2 separate regions of the Homo sapiens genome follow, and region 1 is linked to region 2. The links are contacts of gene promoters, found by promoter capture Hi-C in blood cells and fetal thymus (Javierre and others, 2016). All regions are on one chromosome and are shown on one strand. Each heading gives the region's core, a stretch centred on a gene start or on the middle of the fragment in contact. The rest is flanking DNA. Distances are from core to core; before and after follow the strand shown. Region 1 has its middle 19 kb from the start of HNRNPH2. Region 2 holds the start of ARMCX2 (armadillo repeat containing X-linked 2).

What was found. Contacts are between HindIII fragments. The CHiCAGO score rates a contact against its expected background, and 5 or more counts as called.
Region 1: a contact is called between a fragment that was not itself captured here and the fragment with the promoter of ARMCX2 in region 2, in 1 of 17 cell types (M0 macrophages). The highest score is 5.0, in M0 macrophages.

Annotation. Positions count from the first base shown.
Region 1 is chrX:101,423,432-101,430,790 of GRCh38, forward strand. It overlaps a transcript of ARMCX4 not described here. Among named protein-coding and RNA genes, the nearest start is that of HNRNPH2, 19 kb to the left of the region's middle. The HindIII fragment of the contact is 2,367 bases long and covers 832-3,198 here.
Region 2 is chrX:101,658,597-101,665,627 of GRCh38, forward strand. ARMCX2 (armadillo repeat containing X-linked 2) reads right to left here and starts at 1,254. Exons shown (of 6, transcript NM_177949.4): 1 at 1,162-1,254; 2 at 823-905; 3 at 480-552. The HindIII fragment of the contact is 4,840 bases long and covers 1-1,332 here.

The DNA of each region.
Region 1 (7,359 bases), core at 765-3,264, 230 kb before region 2:
ACATCGTGAAACCCCATCTCTACTAAGAATACACAATTAGCCGGGCATGGTGACACATGCCTGTAATCCCAGCTACTTGGGACGCTGAGGCAGGAGAATCGCTTGAACCTGGGAGGCGGAGGTTGCAGTGAGCTGAGATCACGCCATTGCACTCTAGCCTGGGCAACAAGAGTGAAACTCCGTCTCAAAAAAATAAAAATAAAAATAAAAATAAAAAAGTATCTTTTGCATGCTAATGAGATAACTGGTGGCTGAGGCTCCTAGGTAGATTTAGGACGGGGGCGCTGGTCAAGGCAGGATTAGAGAGTTGAGACTTTTTCACCACACCCCCAGCCTCTGGGGAAGGGAGAGGAGCTGAAGGTTAAATTGACTAGCAGTGGCCAATGATGTAATCAATCATGCCTACATAGTAAAGCCTCTATTTTATTTATTTTTTATTTTTATATTTTGAGATGGAGTCTCACTCTTGTTGCCCAGGCTGGAGTATAATGGCGTGATCTTGCCTCACTGCAACCTCCATCTCACGGGTTCAAGCGATTCTCCTGCCTCAGCCTCCCAAGTAGCTGGGATTACAGGCATGCACCACCACGCCTGGCAAATTTTGTATTTTTAGTAGAGACAGGGTTTTGCCATGTTGGTGGGGCTGGTCTCGAACTCCTGACCTTATGTGATCCACCCACCTCGGCCTCCCAAAGTGCTGGGATTACAGGCGTGAGCCACCGTGCCTGGCTGTAAAGTCTATAAAAACCCGAAAGAATTGGGTTTGGAGAGCTTCTGGATAGCGAACACATGGAGGTACCTAGAGGGTGCTGTGCTTGTAGGGGGCATGGAAGCTTGGTGCCCCTTATCCTGTACCTTGTCCTATGTGATTGTTCCATCTGGCTGTCCATCTATATGCTTTGTAATATCCTTTATAATAAACCTGTAAACATGTTTTTCAGAGTTCTGTGACCCTCTCTAGCAAATTAATCAAACCCAAGGGGAGGGTCATGGGAACCCTGATTTACAGTGGGTCAGTCAGAAGCATAGCTTACAACCTGGCATCTGAAGTGGAGAGCAGTCTTGTGAGCCTGAGCTCTCAAACTGTGGGATCTGACACTATCTCCAGGTAGGTAGTAACAGAACTGAATTCAATTAGAGGACATCCAGCTGGTGTCCACTGCAAAACTGATTGCTTGATGTATGGGAAAATTCTCCCATACATCTGGGGCTACAGAAGCATTCTATATTAAATAGAGAGTATAGGAAAATCCACATTTTGTTTACTCCCCCCTGTATCTTACAGTGAGAGTGAGCGGTCAAGGGTGACTTCTCAGTTTCTGGCTTGTACAACTGGATGTTTGGAGTAACAGCATTAAGAAGCAGGACCTTTAAGATCACATTGAATACTAAGTTCAGGTATGAGGACTGTGAGTTTAGTCTTAGACATACTGTGTTTGACGTGCCTTTGAGAACACCCAAGAGAATATAGGTAGTTGGATGGATGGATCTAGAGCTCAGAAGGGGCCTATATATTGGATATATAAATTGTGTGCTATATGGATATAGTTGATAATTCAAGCCATGTGTGGGGATAAGGTTGTCTAGGCCAAAGAGTATCAGAGTGAGAATGCAGGAGATCAAAGAAGGAGGCTTGAGAAACTCCAGTATTTCATGTGGAGTACAGGAGAGTCAGCCTGCAAAGGAGACTGGGAAACAGCAGCCAGGGAGGTTTAAAAGAAAGTTAGGAGGGACTTGTGTCATTGAAGCCAAAGAAAGAAACTGTTTCAAGATGTAGGGAATGGACTGTTAACAATGTCCATTGCTGCTCAGAGGTCAAATAAGATGTGGACTGGTAAATATGTGTTGCATTTAAGAATATGGAGGCATTGGTGTCCTGGATGGATCTATTTTCATGGAATGACGGGGCAGAAATCTAGAATGGAACAGATTGGAGTGTGGTTAGCAGAGAGAGGAAGGCACTTTTTTTTTTTTTTTTTGAGACGGAGTTTCACTCTTGTTGCCCAAGCTGGAGTGCAATGGTGCGATCTCGGCTCACTGCAACTTCCGCCTCCCGGGTTCAAGCAATTTTCCTGCCTCAGCCTCCCGAGTAGCTGGGATTACAGGCGCACACCACCATGCCCGACTAATTTTTTGTATTTTTAGTAGAAACGGGGTTTCACCATGTTAGCCAGGCTGGTCTTGAACTCCTTACCTCAGGTGATCCGCCTACCTCAGCCTCCCAAAGTGCTGGGATTACAGGTGTGAGGTACTGCGCCCAGCCGGTAGGCAAGTAATGGAAACAAAGAATATAGGCAGCTATTTGAAGCACTTTGGCTGTGAAGGGCATGGAAAAGTCAGGGTAGAAGCAGGAGCGAGACTACGGGTCAAGAGAGGCCTTTCAAATTATTTATTTATTTATTTTTTTGAGACAGGGTCTCACGCTGTTGCCCAGGCTGGAGTGCAGTGGCACAATCACAGCTCACTGCAGCCTTGATTTCTTGGGCTCAGGCGATTCTCCCACTTCAGTCTTCTGAGTAGCTGGGATTAGAGGTGCGCACACCACCACGCTGGGCTAATTTTTGCATTTTTTGTAGACATGGGGTCTTGCCATGTTACCCAGTCTGGTCTCGAATTCCAGGGCTCAAGCAATCTGCCTGCCTTAGCCTCCCAAAGTGCTGGGATTACAGTCTTGAGCTGCTGCACCCAGCCAAGGACTTTTTTTAATGGAGAAATTTTGTGGATGTGTAAAGTTTACAATTAAGGGTCTGTAGGGAGTGAGTGGTTAAAAATACAGCAGAGAGATGGGATAAATCATAGAGTACGTTTGCTAAGAGAGAGGAGCATCTGGAATCGAAAGCATAGGTGGAGGAATTAGTGTTCACTAAAAGGCAAGAGCATCTCTGTCTTAATTGAGGAACTAACTGCTGGTAGGATGTGTGCAGGTATAGTTGGTTTATGTTTGGTGTTAGGAAGATGAGAGACAACTTCCTTCTAAAGGCTCCCCCAACCCCGTTATTTTTTCTGTAAATGAGGGTGTGGTCATCTGCATGTAGAGATAATAAGGAGGAGGAGTTGGAAGGCTGAAGAGAATGGAGAAGGTTCAATGAGTTGTAAGGGTGAGAGCAGGTTGTAGGTTGACCAGAGAAAAATAGAAGGACTGCTGAGAAATGTTGATGGCTCACTTCTGGTTGTTGATGGTAAATTTACTATGAGCCAAGCTTTATTTTTTTCTAAGTGCTTCTCTAAGTGTTCTAGTGTTTTATTTAATCCCCAAAGCAGCTCTATGAGGTAGGTATTATTATTATCACCCCCTTGTCACAGATGGTAAAATGGAGGTACAGCAAAGTTGTGTCATTTGTTTAAGGACAAAGAGCTAGCTAGGTTTGGAGCCAGGTAGTCTGACTCCAAAGCCCATGATCTTAACCATCACTCTAAAATATATCCTAAAAATAGGTCCTGATCATACTTTTTCATTGATAAACATAGATCTGTATAATCACATTTAAGGACTACATTGTTGGTTTTATGCTTGATGGTCTGTCCAGTGACTTTTCCAGAAACTCTCTAGCTGCATTCTTGAGTCAATGCCAAATCTCAGAAAGGAGAGAGCTTATTTGAACCCTATGTTACAAGAGTTTTGATTTCCTTTCCTTCTAGTTTGTTGTATTTTCCAATTTTCTATAGAGAGTACATATAATTTTCATTTTGTGGGGAAAAATAAAGTTAACATCTCTAAAATAAAAAAGCCAGGCTAGGAAGGGAATAGAGGTCTAAGACTCAGTGTTTTTAAAATCTACTATAGCTAAACATGTTTACTTTGTGTCTTAGTTTATTTTGTGTTACTATAACAGAATATCTGAGACTGTGTAATTTATAAAGAAAAGAGGTTTATTTAGAGGTTTATTTAGTTTTGCAGGCTGGGAAGTTCAAGGGCATGGCCTCAGCTTCTGGTGAGAGCTTTCTCTCTCTCATTTTTTTTTTCAAGACAGAGTCTTGCTCTGTCGCCCAGGCTGGAGTGCAATGGTGCAATCTTGGCTCACTGCAACCTCCACCTCCCAGGTTCAAGCAATTCTCCTGCCTCAGCCTCCCACGTAGCTGGGACTACAGGTGCACGCCACTGTGTCTGGCTAATTTTTTTTGTAGTTTTAGTAGAGATGGGGTTACACCATGTTGGCCAGGCTGGTCTCGAACTCCTGATCACAGGTGATCCGCCTGCCTTGGCCTCCTAAAGTGCTGGGATTACAGGCATGAGCCACTGTGCCTGGCCGAGAGCTTTCTTGACACATCATAACATGGCAGAGAAGGTCAAAGGGGAAGTGAACACATGTGAAGAGGCAAAACCTTAGGGGCATCCTGGCTTTATAAAATCCTACTCTTGTGGGAACTAATTCATTCCTAAGGGAATGAATCCAGTTTTGAAAGAGGGAGAACTCACTCACTACCATGAGAATGGCACCAAGCCAATCATGAGGTATCTGCTCTCATGACCCAAACACCTTCCATTAGGCCCCACCTCCCAACATGCCACATTAGGGATCAAATTTCAACATGAGTTTTGGTGAGGACAAACTATATCCAAAGTATAGCATTCTATAATTCAACAACTCCATTCCTAGAAATTTCATTTCAAGAGAAATTAAAGCTTATGTGTATATAAAGACGTGTACACCGGTGTTCTTACCAATTTTATTTATAATTGCCCCAAACTGGAAACAGACAAATGTGCATAAACAAGTGAGTAGATAAACTGTGGTATATCCATACAAGGGAATACTATTTAGCAATAAAAAGGAATAAATCCTTCATATATACACCAACATGGACAAATCTCAAAATAATTATGCTGGGTGAAAGATGTCAGATTAAAAAAGAGAGTATATACTGTATTATTACATTTATATAGTATAGGAAATGCAAATTAATATACATTTTCAGTACTCAGATCAGTGGTTACCTCTGAAGGTGAGGATTAACTAGGAAGGGGCATGAAGGAATCTTATGAGGTGATGGAGGTGTTTTATATCTTGGTCTAGTTACACCAGTGTATACATATCAATTTCATTAAGCTGTGCATTTGAGATTTATGCATGTTACTCTGTGAATGTTGTATCTCAGTAAAAAGGTTAAGACAAAGTTTAGCTCCTTTTGTCAGTCTCCTTTCCCTTTCCTTTGACCCTTTCCTATATTTCTTTTTCTCTCCATCTCTCTCTGTTCTCTACTTTTTGTATCCATTTGAGAGAGAGTTGATGGCACATCAGGCACTCATGCTGACTCTACACTTAACCCTGCCAATTAAATGTTCACATCCCTTCAAATGTACAGTTTATTCAGGAAAGTAGGATTGAAGAAGTCTGTGGTTAAAGAATAGCTCTTAGGAGTGAACATTTCTTCCTTTTCCCTTGCACTTGAATTAGATACGTATCTTTGGGCCTTCACTTCTGTTTTGGTATTTCTTTTCCTTTTTTTTTTTTTTTTTTTTTGAGACAGAGCCTTTGTCACCCAGGCGGGAGTGCAGTGGTGTGATCACAGCTCACTGCAGCCTCAACCTTTCGGGCTCAGGCAATCCTCCTGTCTCAGCCTCCCGAGTGGCATGTGCCACCATGCCCGGCTAATTTTTTAAGTTATTTGTAGAGATGGGGTCTCCCTATGTTGCCCAGACTGGTCTCGAACTCCTGGGCTCAAGGAATCCTCCTGCCTCAGCCTCCCAAATTGCTGGAATCACAGGCATGAGCCGCTGTGCCCAGCTCTGTTGTGGTATTTCTTTAACAGCTGGCGTTATAGGAATCAGACAGACTTGCCTTTGAATCCCTGCTGCACCACTTGTTAGCTATTTGATCCTGATACAATGACTTATCTTCTATGATCCTCAGTTTTCTCATCCAGAGCATGGGTATAATAATGCCTACCTCCTAGATTGTCTTTTTTTTTTTTTTTTTTTTGAGGTGGAGTTTCGCTCTTGTCGTCCAGGCTGGAGTGCAATGACGTGATCTTGGCTCACTGCAACCTTAGTCTCCTGGGTTCAAGTGATTCTCCAACCTCAGCCTCCCGAGTAGCTGGGACTACAGGCATGCGCCACCATGCCTGGCTAATTTTTGTATTTTTAGTAGAGATGGGGTTTCACCATGTTGGCCAGGCTGGTCTCAAACTCCTGACCTCAGGTGATCTGCCCACCTCGGCCTCCCAAAGTGTTGGGATTACAGGTGTGAGCCACCGCGCCCAGCCAGGTGTCTTAAGAATTAAATGAGATAATATTGGTAAAGCACTTTGCCTGCCATCGAGAGGCCACTTAATTTCGGATGGCTTTCTTATTTCCCAAGACTGTGAACTTGTGACTTTTGACTCTTGGATGACATCTAGCCCTGCTCCATTAGACATTAAATAACTCTTTTTATTGTTACTAGTATAACAACTAGGGAGAGGACTTATACTTGCAATATGACTTTTAAATCTGTCCTTGGGCTCACATAACATGTTTCTTACCATATAAGAATGGAGAAGGCTTTTTTATTGGCTTCCACGACATTCCTGGGTGGTTGGTTTGAGACAGCTAGTTGTTGCTATCCTGTTACAGAGGTGAAGGCAGGAGAGGCATCTTGACTTCACCAAGATCTTATATCTTGTATGGTGATAGGTCTGGCACTGACAAATGTTCTATATCTTTCCTTGAGCAGATGTAATAAGACATTACAGACATCTGAGTAAATAAAAATAGGGTTATGGTTTTTCTTCCTACCCCAGACTCTACCAGATGACTCATTCCTACTACATAGAAATAACAGTGAATGTCAACCATAACACAGATGCCTATTTATTTCTCTCCTTACTGACTCATTTTTGAGAGCTTTTTAGCTAGTTGTGCTATTTAGTTGATCTCAAAGTTATCTTCTGCAGGGAAGTTTCGGTGGAAAGAACACTGATATTTGTTGAATGATTGCTCTGTGTCAAACATAGGGCTAGTTGTTTTTAAGGAGGTCTAATCAACTCTGAGGTAATAAACACTATTGGATTTTGGAGAATGAGAAAACTTGATTGTGGAAAACAGAACCAGTTTCTAGACCGCCACTCAGCTAATATGTGACAGAAGAAATATCCCTTATCCCCATCCATTGATTTTATTTCTTTTTGCTTCAGATTTAAAGAGCATGTGACAAATAGTCTAGCCTTTCTCTGTCTTAGCCCCATTGCAGTCACTGTTAACCAACTATCTTCTTGAAACCAAAATGACTCAGCCTAACCACAGAAGCAAATCAAACACTGATGGCCCATAATCTCCAGACAAGGCTTTAACCAAACCTCTGTCTATCCATCTATCCATTTGTTCATTCATTCAACAGATATTTGTTGAGCATTGACTCTTTGCTAGACATTGTGTGAGGG
Region 2 (7,031 bases), core at 4-2,503:
AGGGTCTCAGTAACTGCCTTTTCGTGTTTGCACATCAGAATGTCAAATGATTCTACCTCTCAATTCCTTCAACTCTTCTCACCCCACCCCTCCCACCTCAATCCTCCTCCTGCGCAGGCTCCCCAGGCACTCAATCCCTCCTTCCGCTTTGCCCCGCCCCCGTCCGCCATTTCTCCAGGACACACCGCCACACCCCTTCTCCTGCAACGAAGCGGGAGGGGAGCGGGGCGAGGGTGCAGCAAAAGCTGGATGGGACGCGGTATGGGGGACTCCTGCCAAACAATTCAGTGTTCCCCTCCCAGGATCACCCATCTTTCGCTCCCCAGCCCCTAGGCCTAGCGTTAGCCTGCAGAAGAGGGGCCTCAACGTCTGCCTTTTCGGGTTCAGGGTCGAGATTTTCCACGATTTCTCTGCTATGGGCTCTACCTCCCACTTCCCACAAATCCCCCCAACAACCGCCATTTCTCCCGCCTGCATACCCGAATTCCTTTTCCAGGACTGAAAAGACGGGGGGTGAACGGCTGTGTGGGCCGGAGGTGTCTGGAAAGCAGTCTGCGAGTTAACAAGGCGGTTTAATACCAGATTCTCTCAGGGTCCGCCCCCTCCCCCCCACCTCCCGTGAAGCCCAGACAGCGCCAAACCCGCCACCTCTCCAACAGCAGCTGGTACACCCATTTCCCAGCACTCCCAAATCACAGAGGGTCGGCTGGGGGATGGGAGGGTGCCGGGGCGGTGGTGGGGAAAGTCAGGGTGGGAGTGTGCCGCCCAGATTGTTACCAAATTGCATGCCCCACCCCCGCCTCCTGGTTACCCTTTCCCAACCTCCCTGCTGGCCTTCTATGCGCTGCCACGTTTATTTCTCTTCCCTCCTCCTCTCAAAACAGGACGGAATGTGGGGTGCGGGCCTGAATATTATAAACAAAACCAAAAAACACTGGCTGGAAAGGAAGTAAGCGGATTCTTCGTAAAGTCTATCAAAAGTCTTTTCGTTTCCCCCTCCCCCTTTCCCCACCGCCCACCAAAATGAGCCGCGTTTGAGCACCTCAGGTCTGGAAAGCCGGCCAGGAGTGGGGGAGACCGAGGCACCCGCGGCCTCCGACTCCCGCATCCCTAGATTACCCCTATTCAGGGGTCCCAGACTGTGCCCACCCTCACACCCACCTGCCCGAATCTGGGGGAATTTTCTCCTCCTCCTCCTCGCCTGGGTTAAACGCACGGCAGCGAGCTGCGCAATAGAGTTGGTACCCAGAGGAGGACGGAGAACGACGGTCAGGGCTTTAAGTACCTTTGCCCACGTCAGCTCCTGGTCACGTGAGGGCTGCATCGCCAGTAAGCTTGGGTCCCCAATTTCCACTCCCACCAAGAGTACGAGCCCCCTCCTTTACTTCCATTCCCATCTCACCCCACCACATCAGGTCCTGTCACTCATTTTTTTGTCTTTGTAGTCCTGGAGGCCTAAAGTAGCCCCTTCTCCCTGCTTTCACAATTTGCCTTTCTCTGGTTACCTGGGAGGGGCTGCATCTTCTCGGAGGGCTACTGAAAATTTTTACTTTTTTGTTGGGGAATTGTTTCATCCTTTCCTGGGCTACTGGACACTCTTCCATCTCTCCACCTCTAGTTCCTCAGCCCCTAGTCCCCAGGATTTTCCTTGCAGTTGACTCCCTGTTCCAGTATAGTTAAGGGGCAGAGTGTCAGAAAGGAGACAAGGAGTGGGAGTGGGGTCTGTACTTCTCAAATACTTCTGTTTTGTTTTCAAAACTATCATCATGCTTTATTTTTATAGTAAGAAAATTCAGTAAAACAAGAATTCAATGTGGGAAGTAGCAACAAAAAAAGGGTGGGCATGTTTTGTAAAGAAAAAAGGTTTCCTGCGTCCATTGGAAAGCACCATTAATTTTGGTTAATTTTTACCGAATAGAACATGAATTCTTTTGGTCACATAGGAAATAGTTTTTAAAATATGCTAAGGTATTTGAACATCTAAAATGGAATATTTCTCAATAAGATAAGCATATTTCCATGTGATCTGTAAATTGATCCACAGAGAGATGTTCAGTTCTTCAATCTTGTTTATTTTGGACAAATAATACGCTACTTTTTTCTCCTTCTGGGACAGCTTTTAAGTTGCATAAATAAATGATCCTGTCTTGTCCTGTTAGAGAAACACATTTATTTAATATTCCCAAACCATTGCTGACTGCTGTGTGTGAACCTCCTGTAATTTGATGGCTGTAACCATGACAGTTTTAAACACCTGTCTTCGGATTAGGTTCCAGTTAATGATTCAACTCTGGGCAAAAGGAAGAGCTGTGAGGCCAAGGAAACTGAGTGTGGTGGGTGCAGAGTGGTCAAATCCTCCCTGCCCTGTCAGGAGGAGGAGGGAGATGCTGTCTCTCTACTCCCTCCCATATGCCAGAGCCGCTCATCTCCTGCATTCAGGTACCTGGCTCAGTTGCTCACACCCAAAATATATCCAGACAAGTGACCAAGATGCAGACCTGGTTAAATGTCTTTGGCTCTTTCCGTCCCTCCCCCAAGTTCCCAGAGGAAACCCATTGATGCATAGAAAGGATTGCTGTTCTTACCTGACCCTGCAGCTGACGATTTGTGAAACCTGTGATTTCACAAAAAGGTTTTTGTGATCACACAAAAAGTGATTGTTGGGGGAAGTTCCCAGGCCTGACTGCTGTCTGTCCTTATTCGTGGTTACCAGTGAACCTTGCTCCAAACACTGTCTGCTACTACCACTTGGCCTAAGAGATGCATCCTCCTGGGCCTCTCACTTCTGCCTCCTTAGCTCCAGGGGACCTAGGAAGAGTCTAGCCTTCCTGCAAGGTTACTGCCTGCCAGTACACATCCACCTTGGTGCCCTCTCAACCAAATGTATGCCCAGGGAACAATCCCCACTGATGAACCCAGAGTAGGTGTTCTCACCCGGTCAACTCTGTAGACCACCTGAAATTGCATTCACCTGCAAAGCTTTGTTTGGGATTATATGTGTGGTTAAATGCATTTTTTTCAGGAACAGAGATCACTGACCTCATCAGTTTCTCAAGGGGTCTGTAACCCCCGCCCTGCAAAAAATTAAGAGCTAATACAATGGCCAAGAGGGTCTGTGTTATATATATATAATAGTCCAGATTAGGAATCTTGTATTTTGTTCTGGTAATACAAGTATTATATATTAGTGGTTAAAAATATTCAAAACAATAAGGAAATATATAAAGTATACAGGGAAAGAAACTTTTGTTATCTTTTCCACTCCCAGCCACTGTCAACAGTTTCCAACTTTCTTTTTAGACACATTAGTAGTGCGTTTGTGCTTATTAATCAAGTTCCAAATTTTTGTGATCTGTTTTATTAATTCTAATTTAAAGTGATACCTTTGGTTTATCTTGGTATTATATATAATCATTTGTAAATGATGATTTTTCATTTCTTCCTTTCCAACATTTATGCCCCCTTTTCTTTCTTCTTCTGCATGAGTCATTCTTGGTTAAATTAGACATAAACGAAAATATCCTTAACCTGATGAAGAATATATCAGAAGTTCTTCTGATCTGGCAGATTCGTCCCTCCCTGTGGTCTACCAAGATCACAGAACTTAATGACTGGCATTGACTAGAACTTCCTTACGAGCCTCCTGATCTTGTTCTTGAAGACAGTGGGAATGCCTCTTTTGTTTCATTATTTAGTATAACTTTTGTTGTTTGTGATTGATGTATTTTTTTTTCAAGGCTAATTTCACTTATGTTTACTAGTCCCTCTCTTTCTCTCTGTCGCACGTGCACACACACACGTAGTACAAAGAAATACTATCAGTGAATGGAGGCAAGTCATTAAGTTCTGTAATCTTGATAGTCCAGAGAAAGGGATGAATCTGCCAGATCAGAAGAGCTCCTGATATCTTCTTCATCAGGTTAAGGATATTTTCTTTTATATCTAATTTAATTCATCTAAGAACGACTCATTAAATTACGTATAATTCTTTACTACATAAATGAAGTTCCCTCTTATTCCTATTTTACTTTTTTTTTAAATTAGGAATGGTTACTTATTTTATCAAATGCTTTCATTATGAGGTTTCTTTTCTTCTTTGGTTTGCTGTTGTCAGGAATGATGTAGACAGGCCAGTCTCCCTGTCACTCTTCTCTTCCTATAGTTTATTCTCAACATATCCAGACACATGTCCCTTGTTCAAACTCCCCACCCACTTACTGTGTTGTTTAGAGGAAATATAAATGTCCTTATTATAACTGACAAGGCCCTACCCTGTTCAATCTTACTACTTTTCTGCCTAATCTACTTCTCTCTCTCTATCTAACTCACCCTACTCAGTCATCTTGGCTTTCTTGATGTTCCTGGAATATACTGGACATGTTCCCTTTACAGAGCCTTTTCAGTTGCTCGTCTCCTTACCTGGGATGTATTTCCATCCCACATCACCACACTTAGTTAGATCCCTCACAGACTTCAGATCTTTACTCAAAGGTCACCTTTTTAGTGAGTCCTTCCTTGGTCACCCTTTCTAAAAGTTCATCCCATCTTGACTTTTCATATCTTCTTTCCTGCCATTTATTTTTTCTTTAGTACTTATTAATAACAATATACTATATGTTTTATCTTGTTGGTTGGTTGTCTCTTTCACTAGAAAGTAAGAACTATGAGGTTAGAAATTTAGGTCATCTCTATTCACCGCTGTAACCACAGCATCAAGAACAATGCATGGCATGTAGTACCTGCTCAGTACACATGTTGAATAAATGAATAAATGAATGAATGGCTTTCCAACACTCAACCACCTTTACACTCCAGAAAAAAGCCTAGTTGGTTCTGGCATATCATCAGATTTGTAAACTCTCAAATGAGTGATTACCTAATCAGGATGTTGTCATGGGACAAGATGTAGAAAACTTAAGATTGCTTTGAGTGACATGTGCAGAACTCATTATGCAGTGAGAATTATTGTTTATGATATATGCCATTTAATAAAAGTGAATCATTTTTCTTGAATGGAAATAGTTCTTTAACATTTTTCAATAATAAAAATGCATGTTTGTATAACAAAGAACAGAATGGTGTTAACAAGAAAGTAACAGAATCCATTCCTACTGTTTCCTTTCCTGACACTCCCTCCCTCATCTTCATTTCCAGGTATTTTCAGGACTGCAGAGATGAACATTAGTGAGCCCAAATGGAAGTGGTGAAGGGAGCAGAGAAGAGGATGGGCCCGTTTCCCAGAGAAGCAGAAATGACCAGTAGCTCAGGAGAAGATGCTGTTTCTTCTGGTAATCAGAGAAAGATGACACTTTTGTTGTGTGCACGAAGACTAAAAAGAAAACGAGTGACAGTGCCCTGCATGGTGGAGGTGGTGGGAGGGAAGGCGGGGGAGTGAGGGGCCTTGCAAATAATGGGAGGGGAAATTTGGGACCCAGACTCACCAGTGACGTGGCTTCACGTGACCAGGAGCTGACATGCTGGTGTGTTGGTCCAAATAGCGGTTCCTCCTCAGCTACCAGCTCCCTGTTTCCTTAAAGGTGGTGTGACTGTGGCCAAAGAAGGTGGAGGAGGACAGGGAGGAAACCCATCCAGATCCTTGTAGGTTGCTGTGAAGGTGGGTGTTGATTGGAGACTCCTGAAGTCCAGGTGGAAGGGAGCAGCACAATTTTCAAGTTAGGAGGCACTTCTCTGTTTCCCCAAGGGGACAACCCGAACCCAGGCTTGTTCTCATTTTGTGACTTGTCAAAGGCAGGGCAGTGTCAGCAGCAGAAATGGTTGACATTGGTGACTAGAGGAGGTGGAGGGGAGAAAGTGGTTATCATGTAGCAGAGTGACGGAGGACTGTGAAATAAGAGACAGGCTTGACAACCTGGATTCTGAACAGGGAAAGGTCTGGGTCTGGACCTACATTCAGATGTTGGTGCATCCACTGAGCACTAAGTCCGAATTGTCTTTTCTTTGTTCCTGTCTGGTTTTCGCTTCCGTCTGTCTGTGTCTGCTGCTCTGTCTGTCAGTGGTGGGGTTTCCACGCAAAAGGAGGAGAAGCTAAAAGCTTCATTTCCTTCCTCCTTCCCCTCCCCCTAAACACTCAGTCCCTACATCCAACTTGATTGAAGCTTCAAACTCCTGCCCTCAATGTGTTCTCACTAGCCTAAGGGAGCACCCCTGAGACATTCACAGTGCTGTAGAATGGTCCGAGCTTAGAACTCAGACTTGATGGCAGTGGGACTGGTGATTTGGGCTGGTGCCTCGTACTACATATACTGACTGGCCTGTGGTAGACAGCAAAAAAAGAAGAGACCAGCTGATTTGAAAAACAATAATCACATCTACAAAAGTTTAGAAAATACAGAAAACTATAAGAAATAAAATAAAAATAAGCCACCAATAATTACCACTCCTTGTCTTTCCTCTCTAAGAATGTGGTTGTGTGTATTTAACATTATTGCAGTCATACTATATGTTGCCCTGAAATTATTATTTTTTCAGAAGCATTGCAGGGTATTACTTTTATTAGTTAATGAAAATGCTTCATAAACATCCTATTAATTAATGTTTCATAATAACAAAGCATAATAATCATAACCTTACCCTTTTGCTGCCTTTCATGAAGCAGGTATGAAACTTAACTCATGTGTGAAAGAATTATTAAACATCTTTATTTTTGTAAAAAAACCCAGTCCTCTGTAGATTCCAGGATGGCAAAACATCCTATCACATGGATTTGGAGGTGGTGCCAGGTCCCTGGGGTTACCCATTACCAAGGTATTGGGGAGTGTCTTTCTATACTTGTTATAGCTGTGAAACGGATCATCCATGTTTCCATGAGTTTCCATGAGCCTTTCAATGGGCCAGTTAAGCAGCTTGTGCGACATGCTTGGCATAGAGGGGACAGGAATTTGGTGAGACTGGGCATCCTGGATAGGACTCAGCCTCCAAGGTATATCACATGGCCATCAGCATTGAATTTCTACTCTGTTCTCTAGGTTGCTGGGGAGCAGGCCAGAGGTCCCATCTGCTGAAGGAATTCA